Regions from separate parts of the Homo sapiens genome. Here all the other regions are linked to region 1. Evidence: promoter capture Hi-C in 16 types of primary human blood cells and fetal thymus (Javierre and others, 2016). All regions are on one chromosome and are shown on one strand. The core of a region is centred on a gene start or on the middle of the fragment in contact, and the rest is flanking DNA. Distances in the headings are between cores, read along the strand shown.

Region 1 (4,504 bases), core at 1,230-3,729:
TCCATGTCCTTGATACAGTCTTCTAATATTTGGCTCAGTTAGCAAGGACATCACCATTTAGCACTGTTTTCTCATGAACGTCTTTGGTAAATAATTTTTACCTCCTCCTCTTCAATAGTATCTCAAAGACTAGGAACTGAGTTTAAACATTTTTTTTGTATCATTTTCCCTCTCTAATTTTGCACTTTACTAGATATAATGCACACATAAAAATCATTCTTGATTTATTGACAAATACTTCACTACATTTCGTTACCTTATATTGGCACAGAACACCATATAAATTCTATATAATGACATTACTTTCATGTTGCCTTCTAGCTGTTTCTTTTATAAAAAATCATCTCAACCTATGGATTATAAAATTGCTAAGAGCAGGAATGAATTTCCATTTGGAAAGTCACTGGAGTATAGCAGGAAAATCACTGAACTGGGAGTCAGGAAACAAAAGTCTGAACTCTGCCACTTGTATGGTTTGCTGGAACGTTATATTTTATTGCTATCATTTACTTCATCTGTAAAATAAAAACAAAATCCTCAGAGATGGTGTGAGAATTAAATGAGATACTATGTCTGGAAACATTCTGAATATTCTAATGTACTATACAATATAAGACATTGCTTTTTATTACATCTTCAAAATTATTTTGTGGGCAGCACATGCTGGGCACAAGGCAGACTGTCAGGAAGGTCTCCCTGAGAACTTCTTGGGTCTTGGGTCAAGTTGGGTGGGCATTTCTTACATTTTTACAGCAACAGCTGCAAAGTCCCATTCCTCAGCCTTTTTTTCTTTTATTGGATAAAAGTTATTGCAGTCTAATACAATTTTTGGCAAACCATTCTCAGAATTTTCCATCTGCTTACCACATAGGACCTCTTGTAGTCCTGCTTCTTGCCTTTCCAACTCACCCATGAAATTTGCCTTGTCAATTCTCTCTTCCACCTCACCGAGGTAGCTGTCATACCTGGAACACTCTTTATTCTTAACCTCGCCTGCTTTTCTTTCCCGTGGGCTCCTCTTCCCCTCTGCTGGCTGCCAAGGAGAAGCACATTTACTGGCATTAGCCCCCAAACAGATGCTTGCCTCGCTCCCTTCCCCCTTCCTCTTTCAGCCAAACCATCACTTGCCAAGGGCTGGTGGTTGCTGCCCCCCCTGTCCACTGCCTCGCACTGCTACAGCTCCAGTCCTTTCTGGCAGCCTCCTCTGAAGTTCCCTGCCCGCGTTCGCCCGTGCTTCTTGCCAGCCGCCTCCCCCTCTTGCCTGCAGCTCTCCTAGCTCCCGCCAGCCTCTCCCCCGCTCGGTCTGCGAGCAGCCTCTTCCTCCCGCCCTTGCCAGCTGCTTTACTCGCCTTTCCTCAGGCTGCTTCTTCTCCTTCTTTCCCCAACCCTTCCCCTGGCTCCCGCAGCCGGTTTCTTTCCAGCGCCCCCATCCCTCTCATCGGATGTTTTGTTAACACCCAGGACCATCTCTCCCGGGTCCCACTGTGCGCGTGTGTCCACCGTTCACTTGGAAAGTGAGCGTTTTCATCCCGCTTCTGTATTTGTCTAGTCCGCCACCAAAACCCTGTGCCTACTCCTCAAGCCTGGAAGGCGGAATGTAGCTATGGTAGAGGGGATTCAGGAAGACACCAGGCCACAGGCTCGGGACCCCAACAAAGTTTTGGACGTTCGGGATTTGCTATCTCAGTCTTCCCAAACTTGGTCAGCCCCGGCCACCGACCCGAGCCACCCAGGGGCGCTCAGTGACCAGGCGCTCCTCTGATTCCCAGCGCCCCTATTCTTCCAGGGCCGCTTCCTCAGGAATGCCGACCGCTCTCCAGGACCAGGGTTGGGCCGCTCCCCAGGCCCCACTAGGGTCCGCAGCCTGAGCCCCACCCAGCTCATGGCTGGAGAGGGGCGCACTCGTTTTTAGATGCGAGGCGGCAGGGTGGGCGGGAAGAAAGAATGGAGCCGCCCAAGTTCCTGGGTGCCTGCCTCGGGGATGCGGGATGGGAGATACTGTCGAAGAGCTGTGCTCAAACCAGGGCCCTTGTCGCGGGCTGGATACCTCCGGTGCGCCCTACCGTAGTGGGGAATCCTTTATGAGCCGTCTCCTTTAAGAAGCGCGCGTGCGTGTGTGTCGGGCTGTGTGTATGCGCGCGTGTGTGTGTGTGTGTCGCGGTGTGTCTCTGTGTGTGTGTGTGTGTGTGTGTGTGTGCGCGCGCGCGCGCGCGCCAAGGGCCCCGAGAGCCAGGCAGACCCCGGGAAGGAGGAGTTATGTAGATTACGGATGAACATTCTGGAGGGGAGCGAGGAGAGGAGGGAAGGAGAAGCAGAGGCGAGAGAGTGAGGAGCGGCGGAGGCCCTTCCCGCAGGAGCTGGGGGCGGCGGCGGCGGCGGAGGAGGAGGAGGAGTAGGCAGTGCAGGAGGAGGACGCACGGGCTGGAGGCGGCGGCGGCGGCGGCGGCTGCTGCTGCTGCGGCTGCGACTAGGCTCTTTGAGCCGGAACCGCCGGTGAACTTAGGCGCCACGTTCCCGGTGACTGACCCCGGAGGATGGTGAACAGGAACTACTGCTGACCCTGTCTTCGCCGCTGCCTCTCGGGGGCTGCCGAGCGCGGGGCCCCTGTCTCCTCCCCTTGCCCGGCTGTGGGTGAACCTGCAGGCTCCTTACCCACCCGGAGGACTTTTTTTTGAAAGGAAACGAGGGAGGGAGGGAGAGGGAGAGAGGGAGAAAACGAAGGGGAGCTCGTCCATCCATTGAAGCACAGTTCACTATGATCTTACTCACATTCAGCACTGGAAGACGGTTGGATTTCGTGCATCATTCGGGGGTGTTTTTCTTGCAAACCTTGCTTTGGATTTTATGTGCTACAGTCTGCGGAACGGAGCAGTATTTCAATGTGGAGGTAAGAGTGCGAGGGCTTTCTTCCTCCCCCCGCTGCCTGGGCTGCTCCCTGAAACATTTCCTTCACTCCTGGGATCCTTGTAGCTCAGAGCAGCCTGGGTCCCAGCACGTTGTTTCCCTTCCAGCTGTGGAGACCCTGGTTCAGTTTAAGGGTGTTTTAGGTGACGGATGCGTGTGAGACCCAGAATCCGTTATCCCCGGCAGCACAAAGCACGATGCTGCGCGCTCAAAGACACAATTGTAGCCGGTCCATGCTTTTCACCCAGGGAAGAGAAGTCCTACATATAGCAACCGTGTAGCTAAATAAGGCAGCTTGAGTTTATGATGGATAAACAGCTCGGGGAAGACAGAATTAATTCCCTGGCATCATGTGCTGCCTAGGTATTGTTCCTGAAATCTTTCTCCCAGTGTTTGGTGCCTAACAAAGGAGGTTAAAAATCAAAGAATCTAGAGGAGAGCGTGGGAACACTAGATGTGTTTAATAACATTACTTTGTGATAAAACACTTGAGAATCTTTTTTTTTTTCATTTAGACATAACTTAATACACTGTAACTAGATCTGGCTACACAGAGGACATGAAATCCATCTCTTTTTAAGTGTCTTCTTTCCCCCTCCCCCGCCAATTGAAAATAAACGTGGCCCAATGTAATAGTTTTGAGGTGTGTTTTTAATTTGATTTCACACTCTCGTGGCAAAACGGGGAGGTTTTAGACTGTCATTTGCTTTACTTTGATAGCTTTGGGAACAGACGGCACAAAGCAAAAGGGAACTTAAGGATAGGGACTTGTCAGACCTCTGCCAAAGTACTCTTCCTGTCATCAAGTCAGCACTGAAGCCAGTAATGTGCAATAAATCAATGAAAGCGTGTATACACCTGGGCTGTAACACAACTTTATCACATATACGGTGGGATACAAAGCCAGTAAGAGGGTCTTAGTAACATTTACTTCTTTTGATTAGATCTGATGTCCTCTGAACTCTCAAACGAATTATGAATAATTTTTTAAGGAATAATGTGATTTTTTTTCTTATATTGTTGATATTATGAAGCTTATTGTCATTTTGCTGGGAGTGTGTGTTTACACAATAGCAAGACCTGTTGCACAGTATTTGAACATGCTTCATGTAACCAATTGATACACAGAGTGTGCATAATAAATGCCATGTGTAAAGGCATATTCTGAATATAACTGTGTTTATAGAAACTGTTCTTAGGACTTCATGTAATAAGTCATGGTTAGTACAAAAAAAGTATTTGAAAAAGTAAGAGCTATTATCAAGAGTTAAAGACCTTCACAGATATTAAGTATGAATAAATTACACAAAAAAAACCCAATTTGAAAACTAAAAAGGTTTAACCCTTTGAAAAATACAACTTTATTTTTCTAGATAAAAAGAGAAAGGGGCTTGAAAGTCCAGACTTTTTTTATTGCAAATTTGAACTTTTGGAATTACGTGCCACAGATGGATTTTTGTACCTAACATTTAAATCAAGAGATAATTTAATGTTGAAATGAAGGATTAGTTCATAGGCTGGAGGAATTAAAGTGGCAAGCTGTTATTTATAATGTTATAAACAGAAGGGCCTATTGCTTCAGGTTGGTGGTGATGGTGGT
Region 2 (4,549 bases), core at 450-2,949, 740 kb after region 1:
CCTTGCGTCTCAAAGGCAGGGATTGACGATTCATCTTTATAGTCTCACCTCCTAGCGGAATGGTTCAAAGGGAGTAAGTAGTCACAAATTCATGCTGAGCATATGTATATACAATTAGTTGAAAACTAAGTAAGTAATAAGCTTCTGCTTTTCATATATATATATATTTTTTTATTTAATGGACTAGTAAACTTTCAACAAACATTTCCATTTTATGCCTGTTGTCCCAGTATGGGGTTAACTATTTCCTCTTTATCTCTCAAAAGTGTCCTCATTGGGTAATATATTGTCCATGATTTCAAGCCTATCCAGTTACAGGAAGTAAGGCACAAAAAACTTTTCTGATAAACCCTGAGGTTTGCCATAAAGTTGTCTTACCACAATGTAAAATCTGAGGATACACTGATGTCATAAAGCAGAGGGATGACATATTATATTCATCTTTTAAAAATTAGTTCTGCAGGCAGCGCGGAAAATCAATTGCAGTAAGGAGAAAGTCATGGTTGGATGCTCGCTTTTTAAAATTACTATCTCACAAAAAGTTTTACATGTGTTGAAAACTTTTTTTGCATATAGCATTGTAATTTTGGATACTTTTATTAGACAAAGGAACATTGATTCTAATTATTTCTCATTTTTGGCTCATCACATAGAATTAATTTTATAGAAGCTAACTGAGGAGAGAAAAACACGATAAAATTTTTGCAAGAAAGCAGTCATCATTTCAGTTCTCTTAATACAAGTAAATTTTTCAGTGATGATTTTACAAGCTGAGGAACTGACAAAGTCAGATTTTAATCATTTTTATAGAAAAGTTTAATTAGTTAAATTCTAAAATTATTTCAGATCATTTTCGTCTAGGACAATAGAACATTTATTTGCAAATAAGAAGCTACATGCAAATAGACAGTCTACTTCCTGTGAAATGAAATCACATTAAATTGTGCAGCCAAAATTATTTATTCCATGTACATATGTAGACAAAAGACAAATGAGGAAGAAATACTAGATAACTATAGGTAAGGACTGAATCTTCCAAAACGTGGAATATTAATTATTCATAATATTTATGCAGGTAATATATATATGGCAGGTCTATGTACATTGCAGTCACCATTTTAAATCTCATTATAAAATATGGCTCAAAAGAAACTAAGCATACAGGCTTCCAGTTTGAATCACCCAGAAGGAAAATTTGGAACATATGTTTAGAAACTTTAAATAATCCACATACTTCCATAAAACTTTTTAAAGTTTACAGCAATGGCTACATTACATCTTTGTAATTAGGCATCATGGGAGAAAACATTTTTCAAATATATCACATTATAATTTGTCCTTTATAGGAAGGACTGAACAGCAGACTGTAAATCCTTCTCTTGCCTCTTAGAGCCTAAACAGTTGGGTCAGGAGACCCAGGGGGTACCTTCACAAAATGTTTCTATCTCAAGGCTATTATCCTGTACAAAGTAGATGAAAATGGGAATGTTGTGATCTGCTTTTTTTCCCCTCAGAAGATTTCAGCATGAAACCAAGGGCATGTTTAACTCAATGAAGAAAGGAAGCCAGCCTATAGTACCGTAATGTACATTAGCGCAAAATTTCACTCTGAGGTGTAATTTTAATTTAAGTTTAATGGCCCCACAATGTATTCTTCTGTCCCTGCTGTGCATAATCGTATTGGAAAAGAACATGTACATTGTACTGTCTGATTTGGACATATCTTAGATTAGGAGAATTATGTGGCTGCCTGATCTGCAGCAAAATTAAGTGCAAAACTTAGAGTGTTAGTATTCTTCCTGGATAGGGTCATATATAACAAGCTACTATTTATTCTCCCCTTTCTTCTTAAGTGTCTGAATATGGATAATTTTTCCTCTCAGGGATTCAATGGATCACAAAAAGGCTCTCTTTTTTTGTCTTTGTAATACAAACAGATAAACAATTTAAGCAAACAAGATGGAATAAAACAAAAAAAAAACCCTACAAATTATTTCAAGAGATGTTTCAAAATGTTACTCATTAAACAAACATCCTTTGAACATAAACTGCATCCAGCTCCATACTAGCTGCAAAAATCATTTCTAGTAATTCCCCAAAAATAATTTGTTTATGTGAGTTCTCAGTTGGATGACTGGGTAGGCTTATATTTCAAAAGATTTCCCATTTCTTTGATACTGGTACCTTCTCAGTCTTTGCAACTAAGACCCTGCTCACCTTTCAACTAAATCTTTGGTACTTTAGTTGCAAGTGCAATTTTAGTCTAATTCAAGTCAACTGAAATTTTGTGACTGTACGTATAAGTAATTTCGTTTCTGGTTTCTAGGAGGGTAATAAAAAATGTTAGTTTTCTTATCTAATGATTTTGCCACTGTGGTCTATAAGAAGAGGGAAAAGAAATACCAGGAGTCTCAGAATGAAATCTAAGAGTCACTCCAAAGTTTCTCATATTCCCTGGGCTCATGGAACTTGAGTATGAGACTAGGTTCTAAAAGACAAGCCTTTGTGTTTCACAGCACATGCATGCGTATAGCAGGAATCACAACCTCAGATGCCCATGAAGACCAAGTAAGTAACCTGTAAATGAGTGGAAAGGAGTGGGAAGGGTTGTGGATCACATGTGATGTGCCTGGAAAGTGGCTACTACTCCTTGTCTCCATGACATTGTGGCTTTGATAGATTGAATAATGGCCCCTAAAGATGACATATCCTAATTCCCAGAACCTGTGAATATATTGTATGACACGGCAAAGGAGAATTATAGTAGTAGATGGAAATAAGGTTAGCAATCAACTAATTTTAAAATAAAGATGTTATCCTGTATTATCTAGGTGAGCCCAACATAAATATAAGGGCTCTTAAATGTGGAAAAGGAAGGCAGAAGTGTCAGTGTCACAATGATGCAATGTAAGCGAGACTCCAGAGCCTATGGTTGGCTTTGAAGGTGGAAAGAGAAAGGAATGCAAGCAGTCTCTAGAAGCTGGAAGAAAACAAGAAATGGGCTTCTTCCCTGGTGCCTACAGAACAGAATGAAGCCTGCAATACCTTATGGGTCTCCATTGAGAACCATTCAGACTTCCAACCTGCAGAAATGTAGGATAATACATTGTATTCTGCTATGGCACTGAATTTGTGGTAATGTTATGACAGTAACATAAATTTAATACAGTAGTCATGTGCACCCTGGTGTTGATCTTAATAGATCTTCCAGTTTTTCAAAAGAAGGCTGAGGTACAGATCCTCTTATGAAAGCTTTCATTTTAAAAAACTTGACAGTTAATTCAAACGTTATCATTAGTTTTTAAGCTGTGTAGGGTAAATGAGAGAAGCTGTGTGTTGTTAGTAATTCCTGATGCATATAATTGTATATCTCTTGGTGGTGGTGGTAGTAGTAGTAGTAGTAGTAGTAGTAGTAGTAGCAGTAGTGTGTGTACCCCAAAATCACTAAGCCATGGGAAAAGTCGAGCTGGGAGCCTGCCTTCCATTTTAATTCCTAAATAAGACAGCTAAAAAGGTAAAAGAGTTACATAACCTCCCTCACAATTTGCCCACAAGGAATTTCCATCTGGACCTCACGATCTTTACCTTAAAACACTTCTGTTGAATTTCACCATGGCAATGTAAACTAATAGCTTGTCATCACAGGTGTGGGATAGAAAGTCATCCCTCTGCTCGCTTGAGACAAATGCATATCTGATAGCTTCCTCTGCCCTGTTGTTTATGTAAAAATACTGGTTCATTGAGCCAGACTCAATTGTGTATTCAGGGAAAAGCTGATCAAGGACTCAAAATAATGCAATCTTTTGTCTCTTATCTACCTATGACTTGGAAGCCCTGCTTCGAGTTGTCCCACCTTACTGGACTGAACCAATATACATTTTACACATATTGATTGGTGTCTCATGTCTCCCTAAAATGTATAGAAGCAAGTTGTACCCCGACTACCTTGGACACATGTCATCAGGACCTCCTGAGGCATGTCACGAGTGCATCCTTAACCTTGGCAAAAATAAACTTTCTAAATTGGTTGAGACCTGTCTCAGATATTTTGGGTTCACACAAATAATCTTTCATATTGAGAATTTACTACACATCCTATAGGAAGTGTAGTTAGGGTATGCATGGTCAATTAATGAAAATAATTGATTAATTTTCAGATTAATTCTAGATACTATATTATTGAGCAACTACTGTTCATTGACTACCATGTTAGATGCCTAGTATACAAGCCGTAATGAAGTACAGAGCAATGAGATTCAGGCAAAGGAGATACAAAAGTCTATAAAAGTTACGATCTTCAGGTAAGAAGCTATGAGAACAAGTTAGGGCCTCTTGCCTTTTTCAGCAATGATTTAATACGTGTGATGATTCATGTGTCAACTTGGCTAAAACATGGTACCAGATATTGGATCAAAACTTATTCAGGATGAAGGTGTTTTTTGGAAGAGATTAACACTTAAATAGGTGGACTTTGAGTATGGGAGATTGCCCTCCAGAATATGGGTGGGCCACAACAAATCAGTCGAAATCCTTAATAGAATGAGGTCTG
Region 3 (4,056 bases), core at 462-2,961, 630 kb after region 1:
AAAATTAGGTATTAGTTTTATAAATGATAACCAATTATATAAGTTAATGAGTACTCTATGATTTAAAGCATTTAAAAAAATGCTTTAAAGTTTATTTTGCCCATTAAAATTCCTTACTAGAATCATCATTTATCTAGAAATAATTCCAAATATTCAAAAATGATTTCTAGATTCTAAAGTTAATGACATTTTCATTTCTGATATATTTTAAAATAAATTATTGCCTCTAATACCATTAAGACACTAAGTTCAGAGAATATTTATTTAACATCTACTAAGTATAAAACATTATAATTTCTAGAAGGCATGTGAGAGTACCTTTGGAAGCTCCCCATCTAGTGGTGATAATGGACATATGCAGAGCAACATGCAATATAATACAAACCATAGTAAGCACTGGAATAGAGGTCGTCATAAAATACTATGGGATGTGGATGTCCTTTGAGGGCAGTGTATTAGATCCCAATATGTAAGATACTAGCTCTGGACAGATTCGGAAATGGTCAGTAATTGCATCCAAAATATTTGCATGTTTATTTATGTATTCATATTACTGATTCATTTAACAAACATTTGTGTCAGCATTGTGTTAGAGATATCAAGATTGTGTTATAGAGATATATAAGATGTTCTATTCTGAAATAGCTCAGAGTTTTCTGTGTGATGCAGACAGTATGAAGACGCCTATTATGTGATGTTAACATTATTGACAGTCACAGAATTAGACGTGAAAGGTGGGGAAAAGAACAGTTAATTGTTGTAACCATATGAGACAAAGTACCCTTCTTGGTTCTTGTGTAATTGAACAGCATGTTCACATTCTTAAAAAGTATATACAAACATCTTCATAAAAATAAATCATCATGATTCACTTACATTTGGTGAAAAAGTGTGTTGAATATGAGACTACATTTTAATGTCTAAATGTGGTCTTATTTCCCAATCTTCACAACTTTAGTTCCTTTGTGAATATTTGCAGCCTTTAAATGTTGACTAAACAGAGTGTGGTTAGGTAAAATAGCAAGGGCTAACTAATGCCATCTTCTATTTTATCCTCCGGTTCTTTCAAACACCATTCTCTCTCTCTCTCTCTCTCTCTCTCTCTCTCTCTCTCTCTCTCTCACACACACACACACACACACACACACAAAGACACACATCAGAAAAAAAAAAAAGAAAATCAAAGACCTATCAGAGGGTCATGGAAATCTAGGAATTCCAGAACGTTGTCCTGTGTTCTGGACAGGACAAATAAACTCAGAGAGGAGGCAGTGTTAGAGGAAAACAGTAACTTTTTTTTCTGTCTCTGGTGTTTTCACTTTTTGGGCTCTACCCTGTTGCAGCTTATGAGCCTCAATTATATAGGCATTTTCACTGTGTTGCAATATACACGTTCTTTAAAACCTTGTATGCTACAAAATTACATACTAAAAATGATAAAACTTGAGGGAAAAAAAAGTTAAAAACAGACAACTCAGAATCTATGGAGTGTTGTAACCAGAGCCCCAATGAACATAATACTAACCCCAATAAAAATACTAGCACAGTTAAGAAGACATTTTTAATTTCTTAAAAATAAATAATTATAACAATAAGGCAGGACTGTGTCTTGAAAAAAAAGCGACAGTAGCTCATTGGAATGAAGGGTAAGGAAGAGTTGAAGCTGCTGAGTTATAGAAACAGAGAAAAAAAACCTTCCAAATTGACCACCATACAATAAAAATTCCCTGGACAGAGCACCTGACTGAATTGAACCAAGAAGATTGGAGGTGAATGGGCATCTGGGGACATATTGTACATTCATGACTTGTTATGTTCAACTCGATTTGAATATTTTCTGTTCAATTGCTGTTATTTATGGGACAAAATCCTAACTGGAAAAAATAATACATTTGAACCAATGCAACTTCAGCTTTAATTAAGATTAATTTGACTATTCATCTCAGATTGATCAGGGCATGTGAGCTGATTTGCAATCAAAAACTGTTGTACCAGGAAGTCTACTATTGCACTATTTCTCTTGCGTGGACATCTAGGTTACACAGACCCTTTTCACTTTGCTTTTTACAGGTCTTGATAGATCTTCAATATTTCCTAGCAATTTGATCCTGCCACTTCTTGTCCACTTCCTTTTTGGAGATATTGACCTTTGTAAGTGAGATTGTGGTCTGTGTTTAAATCAGATGAACTCTTTAGAAACTGGGTTGTAAGCCCTTTCTTAAGGCTGGTAATTCTATTTCACTTAAGTCAAAAAATGAAAGATGCTGGTGGTTGTGGAGAAAAATGAACAATTATTCACTCTTGGTGGGAATGTAAATTAGTTCAGCCATTGTGAAAGACAGTGTGATAATTCCTCAAAGACCTAAAGGCAGAGATACCATTTCACCCAGCAATCCCATTACTGGGTATATACCCAAAGGAATATAAATCATTCTATCATAAAGACACATGCATGTATATTTTCATTATAGCATTCACAATAGCAAAGACATGGAATCAGCCTAAATGCCCATCAATAATAGACTGGATAGAGCAAATATGGTACTTATAGACCATGGAATACTATGCAATCATAAAAAAGAACAGGATCATGTCCTTTGCAGGAACATGGGTGGAGCTGGAGGCCATTATCCATAGCAAACTAACATAGAAACAGAAAACCAAATATGGTATGTTCTCACTTATAAGTGAGAGCTAAATGATGAGAACACATGAACTCATAAAAGGGAACAACACACACTTACCTGAGGGTGGAGTGTGGGAGGAGGGAGAGAATCAGGAAAGATAACTAACGGGTACTAGGCTTAATAAGTGGGTGACGAAATGATCTGTACAAAAAACTTCCATGACACAAGTTTACTTATGTAACAAACCTGCACTTGTACTTCTGAACTTAATAAAAGTAAAAAATAAAGAAAAGCAAGGGGAGATTTCTTTCCCCTTCCTCCCCAAGGAATGAAGATTAGTATGTTTAACATTTTTCATAGCATAAAAAAAATCAGAGTATTAGTAAGCCTACAGAGTCATCGAAATTACAGTCTCCTGATTTTAGGTTGCGATTTGTCAGGAAAACTTTCTGATTTTGGAATCAATATTTGCCATTAAGTAAACACAATATGTTTTGGTTCTGGTATACCCATGATCCTGTGCCTAATTTTGTGTCAGGAACTTTTATAGTCAAAGGGTCAGGAAATTGAGTTGTGGAGGAATAATTTTGGAGAATATTAAGGACCATGGCAATTATCAACCAAATGATTGCAAGAGATAAAGAAATGCAGTTTAACTCAATGACCTAGGTATTTTTGGAGATAATGAAGTGTTTGGGGTTTTTGAAGTACTGAAATATTTTCCTTCATGATCTTCTTCAATTTGCAAATGTTAAGAAGGTATTGTCAGCATTCTGTGTTGCTATGCTTACAGGTGTTCATAGAAAACAGAGCTGCATAATGATCAAATTGTTGAATACACTTAATCGGAGGTAATCTATTTTATCATTGTAAATCCTTGCAGCTCCACAATGCTTCAGTCTTGGGGATAACTCTGATTGATTTTTTTTTCTTCCTTGGCCTTGATAACCACAGACAAGTATTGTTTTACTAATCCAAGATACTATAAAAGTTCTCCAGGCTAACTTGTTTCTACTATTATCTTGATTATTACAATGATAGATTTTACTTGTTTAATATTTTAATTATATCTTTGAAAATATAAAGCAATTTGGATTTAAAATAAAAATCCTGATTCCCTTTCACCCTCCACTCTGCTAAAATGATGCTTTGTCAAAGAAAGAGCCCATATGGCACTTAATGGTCTTTCCACTTACACAGCTAATGTTTAAAACCTGTAAACTCTATAGTCAAAAAGCTTAAATCATTTTCACTGTGTTCATAGTTAAAGATTTTATTGGTTTCTTCGGTGGCCTGTTCCACACACTAATAGTCTGCCATCTGAGGAAAGTTTTTCTTACTTCCCAAGCTCTTACTCTTACCTTAGTCAATAGTAACATTTTCATATTTCACTATCCAATTTTGTGACGTTCATTTGTGTGAATTTTCA
Region 4 (4,493 bases), core at 1,203-3,702, 760 kb after region 1:
TACTAATCTGCCTCATGCAAAATTAGCTCTGAGAATATTAGCCCTTTGAAGATTTCTTAAAACACAGCTGCCATATTCTGATCTAGCTAATTTTATATCTAAAAATAAATTGTGTATGCCTTTAATATTTATTCATAATTAAAAAATGGAAAATACATAAAAGTAGTGGAAGACTTAAAATAATATTCAGTGATGAATTTATAAATCTAATGTGAGTAATGTGAGTTTCAGAATATGACATGAATATCTCTTTTTGTCATTTTAGGGCTCACAATACATTTTATAATAAGGCATTTCTAACTTTTCTTTAAAATATCAGCAAATGGCCCGGCATTTCCTTAGACATACTTCACCAGTATATTCTTATAGGTTGGTTGCAATGCTTAAAAAATAATTTCATGGAAAATACATGTAAACTGAGTTCCTAACTTGTGTCACTGATAAAAAGCTATCAGATGATGTATTTAAAAAGACAATTCTAACTTGATAATGTATGGTCAGTCAAGATATAGCCCAAAGTTTGGAATATAGTAAAACCTAATAAATAAAAGTTTTTTTTTTTAAATTTAGAATGTGAATTCGAATTGTTGCAGAATGTCAAAGGAGAACTCTTCCTGCTGTCTCAGAATTTCAGCTGGAGCTACAGAGATCAAAGAGAGGTTGTTAAATACCCACTAATTTGAAAGCGAGTTGACAGGCCAGCTGTGCAGAACATGCTAAGGGGTAACCCCAAAAGACAGATAAGCCTTTGTCTATGACGTGCCTCAAGCCAATACAAGGAGAAAAAAGAAGAGCAATAAAGGAAAGACCATGAGGATGGGTTTCTGTGAGAAGAGCTGTAGATTTTTCCTTTCTTCTCCATACCTTGAGCCAAGTTGGGAGGTTGTAAAAATCCTCTGACAGAGCTTGGGTGTGCTTCCTGCCAGGAGGAAGACTAACCTGGAACAAGCGGGTGGGGAGAGACCTTCAGAGAATTTGGACTCCCTACAGTCGGGGGCACAGGGTTTTGTGTTGACTTGCACTTGTAGAAGTCCGATGCCAGCCGGGCGCGGTGGCTCACGCCTGTAATCCTAGCACTTTGGGAGGCTGAGGCGGGTGGATCACGAGGTCAGGAGATCGAGACCATTCTGGCTAACACTGTGAAACCCCGTCTCTACTAAAAAAAAAATGCAAATTAGCCAGGTGTGGTGGCGGCGCCTGTAGTCCCAGTTACTCGGGAGGCTGAGGCAGGAGAATGGCGTGAACCCGGGAAGCGGAGCTTGTAGTGAGCCGAGATTGCACCACTGCACTCCAGCCTGGGCGACAGAGCGAGACTCTGTCAAAAAAAAAAAAAGAAAAAAGAAAAAAAAGAAAGAAAGAAGGAAAGAAAAAATTCCGATGCCAATAGGCTGGGCTGCCTGTAGTGGGCCTTATAGAAGGAAGAGCCAAGAGGCTTTTGATGGAAGTGAATTCTATTTTTGCTCATCCCAAACCAAGGGTACTATTTCCAGAGGTCTCTTGGAACTCTAGAAGCTATCTGGCCTTCGATTGTTTGGAAAATGATCCCACCCCAAAGGGCTTCCTGCTGAGGAAAGATGAATCTGGTTGAAAGAGGCTGGTCTGTACTGTCGGATGCAGAAGGAAAGGCAAAGGATGGAAGGAGCAAAGCTTTTAAGCTGCCAGTAAGAGACTGTATTATCACCACAGGCAAGAGGAGTGCTGAGTAAGGTCTGCAGCAAGAGGTGCGGTTGGATTTCTGAGGAGCCCACCGTACTCCAAGGAGCAGAAGAACTGGCCCTGTGGCATCAGCTGCACCATTTCAGATTATAACATTCCAGTCTAACATTCCATTTGATTCTTTGTTCTCTTTCCCAGCTTCAAGCTTGAAGAGCTGGAGACAGCAGAGAGAGTGGAAGAGTGGGAGGAACAGGAGATCAGTAAAGTAGATAAACAGGAAAGAAAGAAACCCTACTTCTTTCTCCAGTGCAGACTTCTGAGACTGATCAGCCTCTATGTGGGGCTACAAAAATTGTAGGCTTTAACAGTTGAATATGAAACTATTTATTAAACTTCAAGGTGAAGATAAAAGATATGGGAACCTCATAAGCTTTCATGCAGAGAGGGATGAATTGACAAAGTGGTTTTAATAGGATAGCAGGGAGGGGGGAAGGAAACAGCTGCTTTCTATTTGTACTGACTCCCTCATTAAAGTCACTGCATTACATTCATCAGAATTAGGGATATTTGGAATGAAAGTAATAACTCCAATTTTATTTCTTCAAATGTGAATTTATATGTTAGTTTGGGTTCCTCCAAAACAAGCTGAGATAAAGATTAAGATGCAATTTATTTTGGGTGTGATTCTCAAAAACAGCAGCAGAGGAATGTGGAATGAAGGCAGCTAACAAAGAATTCATTTTAAAGCAAGTTATATGGTTGGTTAGTAGAGCTCAACACCACTGGAAGAACTCTGGAAGTCAGGATAGGGCACATGCTTCAGAGTTATCCCAATGAAGACAAAAGAGAACTGTGATGTTCCTAAATCAACTGCTGTTAGTCTTTGTTAGAGATCTACACTTGGAGAGGCATTCATTCTCTGGCACTTCTAGACTGCAATATAGATGGCAAGAAGACACTGCCAGCAAGAATAGCTCTCAGGCAATATATATGCATGCTGGCAAGAGCTGCACTGCAATAGGGCAAGAAAATGTAAACAGGGAACTGACAAAATCAAGTATGTACCATGGATCATATATTAAGATGGGAGAGTAAAACATAGCTCCATCTTTTCTATTGGGGAATTTTAAGAATAGACGTAAGTTCTCTCTTGGGAAGCTTTATGTGTAATGTGTCTGAAGCAAAGAATATTGAACAAGTCCTGTGCGTTTCTATCAGAGCTATTACATATAGTTATAAAAAGGAGACATTTTTATTTGTACTAGAGGTCAGACTTCTCAAGTTTTAAAGTTTAGAAATGTTTTAAAGGAACAAAAGCCCCATTTTGAATAAGAATAGAATTTTCTCTGATACTTAAAGACCAGTAGGAGTTAACTCAGGTCTTTCTAATTGTTGTATATGTGATAAAAAAGAAGCTAATGCACTATTCAAAGTTTAAACATTATATAATGCTCACTGACACTGTTTTTAAGCAATTATTTACATAACAACTACTTAAGATAATCTATGGAATAATTTTATATTCAAGAAATGAACATATTTAGGAAACATATTAACATTCAGTAATTGTTTATTAATTTCTATCAGGTGTTCTTATATACTAGACACAAGCCATGCAGCAGGGCATAAGGCAGGAGGCAGGATTCTTGCTCTCTAGTGGGGAAGTTCAATATAAAAGGGAAGAAAATAAATGACCTAATTTCACACAGTCACATAATAAATATATAATTACAAACTGAAAATGCTACAGAGGAAAAATGGAGTATACTTGGGAAGTTTAAGTTTTAAGATGGATTTTAATTTTTCATATAACTTTCTCTTTTTTTGAATTCTCCCACATATCATGTTAATATGACAAAATTGACACATACTCAAGCTCATGGCTGAAAGTATATTTGAAAAGTCAAATACATAGAAACAGAAAGTAGAATTTTGGTTACTAGGCACAGGGAAGGGGAGGAAATGGGGAGATAAAGGCCAAAGGGTACAAACATGCAATTTGTGGACTACGAGGACTGTAGTTAATAATACTGTTTACTGAAAATTTGCTAAGAGAGTAGATTTTAGGGGCTTTTACTATAAAATAGGTAACTATGGTAATATATAAGTTAATTTGCTTGACTGTAGCAATTATTTCACTATGTATATCAAAACATCATGTTATATACCCCAAGTATAGACAATAAAATTAAAAACAGCACATGTCAACAGAATTGAGCAGTGTGAAAAATCAGATTACCTTTTAGAAAGAACACTTGTACAGCATTCAGAATGACTAAAATTAAAAAAAATAGCAACAACACAAATGCTGGTGAGGATGTAGAGAAACTGGATCACTCATGCATTGCTGGTGGGAATGCGAAATTGTTCAGCCATTCTGGAAAAGTAGTTTGCTTGTTTCTTAAAGAAAACTCAACATGCAACTACTATATGATTCAACAATTATACTCGAGGGTATGTAACCCAGGGAAACAAAAACTTATGTTCTCACAAAACCTGCATATAAATGTTTGCAGTAGATTTAGTAGATTTGCTAGTCATGTCTAAAACTGGAAACAACCCAGATGTTTTTCAGAGTGAATGGTTAAACACATATGGTCCTACCATATCACGGAATACTACTCAGCAATAAGAAAGAACAAACAATACAACCAGGAATCTCCAGAGAATTATGTTAATTGTAAAAGCCAATCCTAAAAGGTGGCTTATTATATGATTTCATTTATATGACAGTCTTTAAAATGCAAAGTTATAAAAATGGAAAATAGATTACTGGTTGTTTGGGGTTTAGGAGGGAGTGGAAGTGGGAGAGAGGTGAGGGCAATTATAAAAGAGCA

The links. The method cuts DNA at HindIII sites, captures the fragments that hold promoters and counts their contacts. A CHiCAGO score of 5 or more calls a contact.
Region 2: a fragment that was not itself captured here is called in contact with the fragment with the promoter of MMP16 in region 1 in 3 of 17 cell types (M0 macrophages, erythroblasts and M2 macrophages); the score reaches 5.7 in M0 macrophages.
Region 3: a contact is called between a fragment that was not itself captured here and the fragment with the promoter of MMP16 in region 1, in 1 of 17 cell types (endothelial precursors). The highest score is 6.4, in endothelial precursors.
Region 4: a contact is called between a fragment that was not itself captured here and the fragment with the promoter of MMP16 in region 1, in 2 of 17 cell types (megakaryocytes and M1 macrophages). The highest score is 6.7, in megakaryocytes.

What each region holds. Positions count from the first base shown.
Region 1 is chr8:88,325,458-88,329,961 of GRCh38, reverse strand. MMP16 (matrix metallopeptidase 16) reads left to right here and starts at 2,479. Exons shown (of 10, transcript NM_005941.5): 1 at 2,479-2,887. The coding sequence starts at 2,756. It overlaps LOC105375630 (a long non-coding RNA gene), which reads right to left and starts at 2,118. Exons shown (of 8, transcript XR_001745653.3): 1 at 2,064-2,118; 2 at 865-1,033. The HindIII fragment of the contact is 7,293 bases long and covers 1-3,940 here.
Region 2 is chr8:87,587,118-87,591,666 of GRCh38, reverse strand. No RefSeq gene overlaps it. Among named protein-coding and RNA genes, the nearest start is that of DCAF4L2, 280 kb to the left of the region's middle. The HindIII fragment of the contact is 3,111 bases long and covers 144-3,254 here.
Region 3 is chr8:87,691,673-87,695,728 of GRCh38, reverse strand. No RefSeq gene overlaps it. Among named protein-coding and RNA genes, the nearest start is that of DCAF4L2, 180 kb to the left of the region's middle. The HindIII fragment of the contact is 4,310 bases long and covers 1-3,866 here.
Region 4 is chr8:87,563,059-87,567,551 of GRCh38, reverse strand. No RefSeq gene overlaps it. Among named protein-coding and RNA genes, the nearest start is that of DCAF4L2, 310 kb to the left of the region's middle. The HindIII fragment of the contact is 728 bases long and covers 2,089-2,816 here.